4 separate regions of the Homo sapiens genome follow, and all the other regions are linked to region 2. The links are contacts of gene promoters, found by promoter capture Hi-C in blood cells and fetal thymus (Javierre and others, 2016). All regions are on one chromosome and are shown on one strand. Each heading gives the region's core, a stretch centred on a gene start or on the middle of the fragment in contact. The rest is flanking DNA. Distances are from core to core; before and after follow the strand shown. Region 1 holds the start of TMEM209 (transmembrane protein 209). Region 2 holds the start of COPG2 (coat protein complex I subunit gamma 2). Region 3 has its middle 20 kb from the start of SSMEM1. Region 4 overlaps TMEM209 (transmembrane protein 209).

Region 1 (2,700 bases), core at 15-2,514, 460 kb after region 2:
ACTTTGAACAATTTTCCAGTTAGTTCATCTCTAAATCTAAAACTAGAGCAAAACAACATTGCTGCTAAAGCAATCTAAAAATGATAAAACTTAACAGCTCTTCAAGAGCACAGCATACCTGCCGATTTTCATTAATATACAATACCACGTGGTATTAATCTTAGGATCATTTTAGGAAAAACTTTGGCCATTGGACATACATGATGTAATCCACTAGCTTACTGTGGCATGGCTTAATGTTTTTATTAGGAGGCACACTTCAGAACAAGTCCCCAGGCCCTGGGTTTCTGGCTGTGGACTCTAACGCGTCATCTCCTCCAGGAAGCTCGCGAGAGCTGGGGCTGGGCTGGATGCGCCTCCTTGGGGAGCACTGCATCCACCTCACCTGCCACCGAAATGCATCTGTGGGCCTCCGCTGGGGTTGAGCTCCTCTGGGTAATAACCAGGAAGGTCTTATTTTCTATATCCGTGCGCCTGGCTCAGCGGCACACTTGTAGGTATTTGTGCTAAATAAAACAAAGCTCAACCTTTTCCTCAGGATGAGCAGCTCTTCCAAAAAATACATACGAAAATGTGTTATTATTTTTAACCTCAAAACCACTAGCAACTTCAATAAAACAAATTTTGGGTGTGCTTGTTATTGCTGCACCCTATTAAACAGATTAAGAATTTAGGCCGGGCGCGGTGGGCCACGCCTGTAATCCCAAAAGGCGGTGGGAGGCCAGCAGGCGTTTGGGAGGCTGAGGCGGGCGGATCCCTTGAGGTTAGGAAATCGAGACCAGACTGGCCAACATGGCGAAACCCTGTCTCTACCAAAAAAAAAATTACATGGGGTCAGGACTCTTGACATAGATACTTTAACACAGGGGAAAGAAATGCTTTGTCACTGATGGTGTCTGGCCACTTTATCACGCCACTCTATCCTACGGTGAGCCGCCCTACTTAATCAGTTTACACATGTGAGTCCATAAATGCCCTAGGGAAGCTAAAATTATATTAATAGATACAAAATTCAGCTTGTTACAATTATTACTTTTTACTGCGGGTTCAGAGCCTGGTCTGAATTTTGCTGCTTAGCTTTCTCCCGCAGCTGAGTGGGAGCCGCAAAACCGAGACCTGTTTCCCTGGTAACGCTCCGAGCGCCTGGGCCTGCGACCCCTCCCTTTCTCGCGAGAAGAGACTACCTAGTTCTTCCGGTAACTTTAGAGCCGCTTGCCGGTGGCCTCCCGCTTGAGCTTGGCTTTGCGCATGCCCAGAGAGAGTGGCGCGAGCCTGCGTTTTCCGGCCAGAGGACATGGTGCGTTTTCGGGGTCGTGTTTGTGCTTCCTGTCTTGGAATCTACGCGGGTTGTGGGAGTTCCGCGCCTGCTGATCTGTCCTGGGTTCAGCCAAGGGGGATGTGGCTAGGCGTTCCGCCTCTCTAGGGGAAGGGAAGAAAGAAGCAATAGGGTTGCTGAAGTTCGTGCCCAGGAGCCGGGGAGGGAAGCTCTGGACTGGGAAATTGGGACGCGGGGGCTGAGTGGCGCGAAAGCTATTGCTCTGTCCTCTGTGGGATACGACTGCTTGTCGCTGGAACAAGTTTTGCACGGTCTGTAAGAGTTGAGCCTAGCTGAAGAAAGGAGGAATTATAAATCCCAAATGTGGACCAAAACAATGCACGTTTTCCCCTCTCTCCCTCTTACTCCGCTCACCACCCCATCATAAGTACGTGCCCTTCTAAAACTTGGATCCTTGTCCTTTATCCACACACAAAAGGGAGAGCCCTGGAGTACAGCTGTCCAAGTGCAGAGTTGTTGAGATAGTAATGGCGTCTGCATGAGGATGTACAACAGTCTTTATGACTTACAGCAGATATGGAATATAGTCTCCCAAAACTTGACATTTTGAGTTTCTGAAGTTAGCCTTTTGCCTAGTCCGTGTAACATACCCCAAAGACAAAATACAAAGTATTTCTAGACATAACCCTTAAATTACAAAATAAGACATTTTTATGTATTGGAAGTATTAAATTGTTCTTAAATAACCAGCCACGGCTGGGCGCGGTGGCTCACGCCTGTAATCCCAACACTTTGGGAGGCCGAGGCGGGTGGATCACAAGGTCAGGAGTTCGAGACCAGCCTGGCCAAAATGTTGAAATCCCGTCTCTACTAAAAATACAAAAATCAGTCGGACGCGGTGGCGGGCGTCTGTAATCCCAGCTACTCGGGAGTCTGAGGCAGGAGAATCGCTTGAACCCGGGAGGCGGAGGTTGCAGTGAGTCGAGATCGCGCCACTGCATTCTAGCCTGGGAGACAGCAAGACTCCGTCTCAAAACAAATAAATAGATAAATAACCAGCCACTTCTCTGTTGATTACACTGTGATGCCAATTAAGTTACATATAATTTTGGGTTCCCTTTTCATATACTGATATTAAAATGGAAGAAGTTTTGATAAAACATTTTAAAGATGAGAGAAGGTATATGCGGTTTCAGTTACCTTTATAAGGGATGCAAAATTTGGTTTTTAAATGGAGCAATAGTTTCTTCTGGTTAATTCCTGTGCTTTTTGTTTTTTCATAGATGCAGGGGGAGGCACACCCTAGTGCTTCCCTTATTGACAGAACCATCAAGATGAGAAAAGAAACAGAGGCTAGGAAAGTGGTCTTAGCCTGGGGACTCCTAAATGTATCTATGGCTGGAATGATATATACTGAAATGTAA
Region 2 (2,700 bases), core at 46-2,545:
GGTCCTTCTACTTCTCAGCAGGTCTCCGGGGCATTACCCACCTTGAGAACCTCTGGGCCTATTATCTACACTGTCTCTGCCTAGGTTCCCAATACCCTTGGGCCAAGGAAGAGGAAGAGGATGTTTCCTTCCCCAAAGCCTGTTTATTTTCACCCCCAGAATAAATGAGTGCAGACTTCTATTTCCTTCAAAGAAAACTCCACCTACAAAGTATGACTTGACCTTTACAAGCCATATAAAGCAAACATAGTAGTTAATAGTACATTTAGTCAAGTCGGAGTTAAATCTTAAATGATACCATATGTAGGATATCAACAGTTCATCTTAAATCTGTATTTCAGGGAAAGAATTTCTCTAGGATGTAGAATGTAATCTAGGTTAGAATTTCTCTAATTTTGCAGGGGCACGATCCTGTTGAGTATAGACCCAATTTACATTTCTAAACAAGTTATGCCAGTGAAGCCAAAGGCAGACAAAGTTTCTTAGCTACACTCTTAGACAAGAGAACAGAAAGCCAGCATACACTCTGAGAAAAAGAGGAACATGAGTTAGGAATGAATGCACGTTAATTTAGTGAGTTTCTTAAGTGTCAATATGGTTTCAGATGGAATCATTGAAAGAAATAGGCTTGAACAAGGAAGACTCTAAACTGGCAATGAATTTTCCACTGGGTTTTGATGAAATGAAGGAATCCAAAAATTATAAAATAGGTTGGGAATGGTATTACACGGTCCAAAATCTACCCTCTAAAGACCAGCCTCTGGTCCCTCCAAGTGCGTCTCCTTTACATCTCACATTAAGTATCCTTCGAGTACTTCTGAAAAGCCACATTCACCAGGGTGCCTGTGCTTTGTCGTAGCTTCCAAGAAGTCAGCGAGTGAAAGGCCAATTTCCAAAGTGATTCGGGAACCACTGACACTCGCATCGCTCTTGGAAGACATGCCCACCAGAACCGCGCCCGGGGAGAGCGCCTTCCGCAACGGGAGGGCCCCGCAGTGGATTATCAAAAAGGCCACGGTCATCGGGTGAACACAGACCCCTCAGTCCTCCCGCCTCGCTCTCTTGAGACTGAGGGGTCCGCAGAAGTCGCCACCCAAATAAAACCACATTCCTGCTGCTGCGGGCGTGGGCTCCCGGGTCGCAAGCCGGGAGGGTCGAGCCGAAGTCTCCGGCGGGCCGCAAGAGGAGAAGGGGGCGTGGCTGCGTCCCGGGGGCCGAGGGCGGCCGGGGAGGGCGGGCCTTGGCCCCGAGTGAAGGCGCGGCGGCCCAACCGGCGTGAGAGCGCGGGGCCGGCCTTCCTGCAGCCTCTTCCGCTCGCCGGCTGCGGCGCCTGGGACGGTTGCGGTGGGTCTGGGCGCTGGGAAGTCGTCCAAGATGATTAAAAAATTCGACAAGAAGGACGAGGAGTCTGGTACGCGCGGGGCTTCCGAGGCCCACCCTCAGCCGCGGGACGCCCCTTCCCCCGCCCGCCGCCACCTGCTTTCAGGCCGGCGGGGCTGGGGGCGTGGGCGCCGCCGTGCCAGGGGGCCGGAGCTGGAGCCGGCCCCTCCCCTCCCCTCGCGGCTGCCCGGGGCCTGCCCGTAGCCCCTCCCCCGGGCGCCGGAGCCTCCCTTCGGGCCGCGCGCTCCCGCCCCGGCGCCCGCGCGCGCCCCGTTCCCGCCCCTCTTGCGGCGCAGCCCCTCCGAGCCGCCTCCTCCCCTGCGCGCGGGCCTCCGGCGGGGGCCGAGGGCGTGCGCGCGTCTCCGCGTCCAGGGGTGCTGGTAGGGTCGGACCCCTAGTGGGAGCACCCTGTTCCCGGGGCTGGGGTCGACGGCACAGGGTGTGTGTGGAGGAACGTTCAGGTGCCTGGTACCTTATCGTTTTCCTGGGGTCACCGGCTCTGTCCAGGTCCCCGGGGGCAAGACTGTCCCGTGGGACACAGCTCGTTGAATGCTCAGGTGTCCAGAAGTGACCTGCGTCTTGATGCCCGTCTTTGGTCCAGAGCAAATGGGGAAGATGCCAAGCATCCTCAAAAAGAAAAAAATTCTCAGTGTTTGGTAGCATCTCCCACAGTGTGAGAGGGGGTTGGGTTAGTCAACCTCCATGGCCTCTTGCACCTTTACGCCTGCATGATTCTCTGGGAAACTTCGTTTCTGCCTCTCCTTAAGTGTTAGAAACACATAAAATACTGCTTACCTAAGGAAATCAAAAGCACCCTACTACAATCTCATTAATCTTCGTTGTTGTGGAAATGACACATTTTTAACATTCATGGAAAAAGAGGGCAGGGAAAGAAGACACTCATTTTGGAGAGGGTTGCTGCGAAAGAGAAGTCTCAGCTCTTCGAGTATGGCAGTGACAGAGCCGGGATCAAAATGATTTCATTCAGTTCGTATGCGTATTAGCCATGATTATCACTGTGCCATCCAAGTGTTCACTTCCCAAGCATTCAGTACCCTTCTCTGGAAAGTATATAAGTTTGTGTAGAACAGCTGTTCAGGACATTTTTTTGTTTTGTTTTATAAATAGGTAGTGGCTCCAATCCTTTCCAGCATCTGGAGAAGAGTGCTGTTTTACAGGAGGTATGACTGGGAAGTATCTTGTGCCCTTTCTTTTCTATTCTGTTTTAGAGTGGTGGGCAGAGAATCCCTGGGCTGCTGTGATCACGACATGCAAAACAAGAAACGTAACAGAGTTTAGGGAATATAGATTTGAGGGAAA
Region 3 (2,700 bases), core at 103-2,602, 440 kb after region 2:
TACATGCCCACCCTTGAGCCACTCATGGACCAGGAGAATGGCACCACCAGGCTTGGCTTAGACCAATCAGAACTTAACCGTAAATCATGTAAGAGAGCAGGAACAATGGAACAAAATGGAAGAAAGGAAAAGAATCAACATAGGCTACTTCAGACCCTTTCTGTATCTGAAGGGGTACAATCAGAGAAAAGAGACAAAAAGACGCTGACCCTAAGTGGCATTTCTCCAAGCCCTTTCGTCTCTTCCTCAATCCTCTGACCTGCCAGTCAGTCTTACTAACCCTGGCTGTAGACCCTTCCACTAGGACCTGGTTTTTATCTCTCCACTTCTCCTTTTGTGATTTACACTAATTAGTAGCAGAGTTAGCTCTCAGCCTGGTGTTCTCACTGCTAAATCAAGATTTGAACACGTGAAACTTCATGGTGACAGAGGGCCCTAATAAACAAAGACAATTAGAGACAACAGGCCCCTGCAATAAGGCGGCTTGAGGAACAGCTTGTGAAAAAGGCCGAGCTCAGAAGATGAAAGAACTGGAAAACAGTATTGCTCAGGATCATAAAATTTTTGTTTAAAAAAAGGATTTCATGCATTATCCCTTTGTGCACTGAGTGGAAATTTGCAATAAGAAATAACGAGAAAGGACAAGTATAATTTATTTATAATGCATCTTTCTCTTGCCAACTTCCCTGGGCCTCTCCAATAACTGCCAGTCTACATACAAAAAAGGTCAGCTTTCTATTTTCATCTGAGGTTTTGTTAAATTTAGATGGTAAGTGCAACTCTTCTTTACACCAAAAAGTGCCTATTATTTAAGATTCAGTTGGTATGTAATAGATATTTGGGGGGGAAAAAAGCATTTTCTTCCTTTTGTCTTCCTCTAATAGTATAGGAATGTATGGGCCTGATTTATATTTCCCCCACCCTCCCACCCACCTCTTTGACCTCTATCTTTTCCTGACAGATAGAGAATATCCAGGTGGCCTGGTACTTGGAAACTTGTCAGATGTTATTCAAAGCAATAAAAAACACATCATGCAAGTCTTCGGCATATTGTTACAAGGAAACCCTGTTTAGAATCCACTAATTGGGAATTTGTGATAATTTGAGGAAGGGTTTGCTGAAGTTAACCTTTGTACTATCTATGAAAAAAAAAGTTCACTGAAGTTCTGAATAGTAGTGTAAACAAGATTGGAAGGGGAATAATTATCTGCTTAAAAGAACCAGTTGTTTTGAAAAGCTTTAGAAGTATTCTTTTACATACAAACAGGGTAATTATGATTTAAACAAAGGCTGGCCTGTTTCTTAGGCTTCTTTGAAATGTCAATTACAAATAACTCTTGTCTATTCACCAAGCCAAAACCCACCCCTGTGTACCAGGCAACAGTTGGTTAGCTTGCTTCCACTTTTTGTATTTGAAAATAATAAACCTGAAGTTCTTTTAAAGTAGTATAATTTAATTCAAGCTTTTCACTAATTGAGACGGTCCATCCTATAGTGTGGGTGAGGATTTACTAATTCCTAGCAGACAATTGGGAAAGCATGGAGTGATAGTGCCTTCACTAATTTAGTGGTATTGCTAGATGATACAGGAAAATCTACAAAGAAAACTACTCTAGAGCAGTGACTTTTGTTTTTATCTTTTTTTTTTCTATTTTTAAATATTTTTCTAGAGACAGGGGTCTCACTATGTTGCCCAGGCTGGTCTCTAATTCCTGGGCTCAAGTGATCCTCCTGCCTCAGCTTCCTAAAATGCTGAGATTATAGGTGTGAGCCACTGTGCTCAGCCCTTTTCTCTTATCACACATAATAAGAAATACATTTTACATTGCAATTCAGTACACACACACTTAATAATACTTACCCTTGTTATGTGTGATATGCTATTACTTTCTATTATTTTTATTTATTTATTTTTTTTAGACAGAGTCTTGCTCTGTTGCCCAGGCTGGAGTGCAATGGCATGATCTCAGCTCACTGCAACCTCTGCCTCTCAAGTTCAAATGATTCTCCTGCCTCAGCCTCCCAAGCAACTGGGATTACAGGCGTGTGCCACCATGTCCGGCTAATTTTTGTATTTTTAATAGAGACAGAGTTTCGCCATGTTGGCCAGGTTGGTCTCGAACTTCTGGCCTCAAGTAATCCGCCCACCTTGGCCTCCCAAAGTGTTGGGATTATAGGCGTAAGCCACCACACCCAACCAACTTTCTGTTTATTATTTAATAAATGCGAATCATGACCCACTAAATTTATTTCACAATCTGCTAATGGGTTGTCATTTTCAAAGTACTACTTCTAGAATGTGTTGGAAGATAGCACTCCTTCATTAGATAAAGGAGTGGCACTGGGGAAGAGTCGTAGTTGCTATCAGGTTTTCTTGATGGTGTTCAGCTTGGTGTAGAGCCCACACCAGACTCTGCACAAAAGCAACATCCAGCCATGACTAGTGTCTGCAGTCCCACTTTCATAACCGTCTCTTCTCACCAGATCTGTACCTGACCATGGTTTTGCTCCTCTTTCTATGGTTCACCATGTCCTGGGATGATGGAGCAAGGTAGCCCACTCACATCAGAGTTCTTACTCCCCATGCGGTCTGAACCCAGATCCCCTCCTCCTTTTCCTCCACTCAAACCCTTGGCCATCAACCTCACTGTTTTAGTTCCTACTGTCCCTTGTTTCTCAACAGTCAGTGCAAAGTTCATT
Region 4 (2,700 bases), core at 8-2,507, 490 kb after region 2:
GTGAAAACCCCGTCTGTACTAAAAATACAAAATTAACCGAGCATGGTGGCAGGCGCCTATAATCCCAGCTACTCGGGAGGCTGAGGCAGGAGAATCGCTTGAACCCTGGAGGCGGAGGTTGCAGTGAGCCGAGATCGTCTGGGGGGCAAGAGCGAGACTTCGAGACTTTGAGACTTTGTCTCAAAAAAAAAAGAAATGTCTTTTTGATTCCTTTACCCATTTTTAAATTTGGTTATTTGTCTTTTTGTTGAGTGGTAGATGTTTTCTTTATATATTCTAGATATAAGCCCAAGACTCTTAGCAGATATTAATCACAAAGTTGTATAAAGCATAAAGACTATGTAATAATAGTAATTTTCCATCACCTATTTTCAACTCTCTTATCTGCTAAAGGTAAAATTTTAGGGTGCCATATAAATTGCCTAAAATATATATACTATAACTTAGTTATTAAGTAATTACCTTTACCAATAATGCTACGGTGCATATCCTCTTACCTAAATCTTTGTATACATTTGTAATTATTTCTTTAGGATAATTTCTTAGAAGTAGACTTGTGTGTCAGTAGGTGTGAATATTTTAAGATTTTTGTTATTGTTTTCTAGACAGAGTCTCGCTCTTTTGCCCAAGAGGGAATGCAGTGGTGCTATTATGGCTCACTACAGCCTCAGCCTCCTGGGCTCAAGAGATCCTCTCACCTCAGCCGCATCCAAGTAGCTGGGACTACAGGCACACACCACCACACCTGGCTGATTTTTGTATTTTTGTAGAGATGGGGTGTCCAGGTTGGTCTTGTACTCCTGAGCTCAAGCACTCCCTCCACTTTGGCCTCCCAAAGTGCTAGGATTACAGACATGAGCCAATGCATCTGGATATATTTCAAGGCTTAGAAGATACACATCTCTCCAAAAAGCTTTTACCAGTTTGTACTCTAGCAACCATGACACATATAGGAATGTTTTTCCTAACATTGGATATTGCTAGTACAGTTGGATATTTTGAAATTTTTAATTGCTTTTTACATTTCTATGCATAGTTATCTTGCAGGATATGATAAAAGAAATCACTACCATAAAAAGCTTCTGCTTGTCCTGGCATAATGGGCAACTTCTAATTCAACTTATTTTGAAAACAATTGTGTGTCTTTTTATACATGTCTTATACAAATTTTCTGTATATTAGTTGTTTATAGATTTGCCAAAATCGATTTGGCTGCTTCTCTGGGGAAGGGGAGGAGGGGGTGTTGCATGTGTAAATCTGGCTATCTTGCTGGGAATGGTTCTAGGTAATGTAGATCGTGCAAATTAAAATGCTTTCTTTCATTTATTCCTTCGACATTGAGTGCCTAGTCTGTTCCAGGTGTTAATACTATTCTGGGCACTGGGGGATACAGCAGTGAGCAAAATGGCCAAAGTCCCTGCCTTCATTAAGCTTTCATTCTAGTAAATGAGATAGACAATAAAAAAGATAAAGTACTTTGGGCCAGGCACGATGGCTAACACCTGTGATCTCAACACTTGGGGAGTCCAGCGTTGGTGGATTGCTTGAACCCAGGAGTTTGAGACCAGCCTAGGCAATATAGTGAGACCTTGTCTCTACTAAATAGAAAAAAAGAAAAAAAGTGAACCAGGTGTGGTGGCATGTGCCTGTAGTCCCAGCTGCTTAGGAGGCTGAGGTGGGAGGAGGATTGCTTGAGCCCATTCGATTGAGGCTGCAGTGAGTGGTGATTGTGCCGCTATACTCCAGCGTGGGTGACAGAGCAAGACACTGTCTCAAAAAACAAAAAGAGAAGAAGAAAAAAAGTACATTGGACAGTGGTTAGTGCTAAGGAGGAAAAAAGCACAGGAGGGTAATGTTATTAATGTTTAGAGAGGAGGGGTGAAATTTGAGGTAGGGTCGTCAGGGGAGACGTCATTGACTTGTATGAAGACCTGAAGGTAGTGAGGAACCAGCTGTATGAACACATGAGAAGAGCATTTTAAGTTCTTTTGGAAACTCACTTTTAGAATAATCAGTGTTCTCTGTGTTTTATGTTAACAGAGGCTAGTATTACTAGCTTGAAACAAGCTGCCCTGGTTAAAGCGCCTCTCATTCCGACTTTGAACACAATCGTTCAGTATCTAGACCTTACTCCAAATCAGGAATACTTGTTTGAAAGGATCAAAGGTAATTATTGATTTGAAGAGAAAAAAATAAGAGCTTTTTTACTATGCTGGAATTTTATCAGTGAAGATTAACAAGGAAAAACTTTTAATTAAAAGTATAACATGTCTTATAAATACGTATTAATTATAGCTTAATAACTTTATTTTGTGTAGGAAACTTAAATATGAGCTAAATGGGCTCCAGTGACTATTTCACTCATTTCCTACTTTTAGACTCATAAGAATGGGTGCCATTATGACATTCTTTATAGTTCCGGTGTGCTGAGCCTTATTTCTCTTAATTTTTATAATTCCTATTTAATAAGTTTCTTCCTTATATTTCTGTGATATTCTTATTATTTGGTGGAAGATGTGCTCTCCTGAGGAGACTGACTTGAGAATCAGGAAATGTAGGCTCCCTGACACCCCCATACACCCTCTGTGCCTCTCTACTTACAGAGCAATTCATAACGTTAGAATTTTTTAAAATTTGGATAAACTTTTTAAAAGATTCTCATCACTAAGACAAGTTTTAGAAATAGTATTCAAATTGATC

Evidence for each region. Contacts are between HindIII fragments. The CHiCAGO score rates a contact against its expected background, and 5 or more counts as called.
Region 1: a contact is called between the fragment with the promoter of TMEM209 here and the fragment with the promoter of COPG2 in region 2, in 1 of 17 cell types (fetal thymus). The highest score is 5.3, in fetal thymus.
Region 3: a contact is called between a fragment that was not itself captured here and the fragment with the promoter of COPG2 in region 2, in 3 of 17 cell types (megakaryocytes, erythroblasts and M2 macrophages). The highest score is 6.4, in megakaryocytes.
Region 4: a contact is called between a fragment that was not itself captured here and the fragment with the promoter of COPG2 in region 2, in 1 of 17 cell types (M1 macrophages). The highest score is 6.0, in M1 macrophages.

Annotation. Positions count from the first base shown.
Region 1 is chr7:130,203,970-130,206,669 of GRCh38, reverse strand. TMEM209 (transmembrane protein 209) reads left to right here and starts at 1,264. Exons shown (of 15, transcript NM_032842.4): 1 at 1,264-1,297; 2 at 2,560-2,696. The coding sequence starts at 1,295. It also overlaps a transcript of SSMEM1 not described here. RefSeq lists enhancers at 1,000-1,109, 1,170-1,349, 1,026-1,825 and a silencer at 2,487-2,700. The HindIII fragment of the contact is 16,046 bases long and covers 1-2,700 here.
Region 2 is chr7:130,667,343-130,670,042 of GRCh38, reverse strand. COPG2 (coat protein complex I subunit gamma 2) reads left to right here and starts at 1,295. Exons shown (of 24, transcript NM_012133.6): 1 at 1,295-1,411; 2 at 2,509-2,561. The coding sequence starts at 1,375. TSGA13 (testis specific 13) reads left to right here. Exons shown (of 8, transcript NM_052933.4): 8 at 860-1,400. The coding sequence ends at 1,029. RefSeq lists silencers at 923-1,032, 1,123-1,712 and an enhancer at 1,983-2,092. The HindIII fragment of the contact is 8,378 bases long and covers 1-2,700 here.
Region 3 is chr7:130,226,656-130,229,355 of GRCh38, reverse strand. No RefSeq gene overlaps it. Among named protein-coding and RNA genes, the nearest start is that of SSMEM1, 20 kb to the right of the region's middle. The HindIII fragment of the contact is 226 bases long and covers 1,240-1,465 here.
Region 4 is chr7:130,177,868-130,180,567 of GRCh38, reverse strand. It overlaps TMEM209 (transmembrane protein 209), which reads left to right. Exons shown (of 15, transcript NM_032842.4): 10 at 2,041-2,166. Among named protein-coding and RNA genes, the nearest start is that of TMEM209, 26 kb to the left of the region's middle. The HindIII fragment of the contact is 352 bases long and covers 1,082-1,433 here.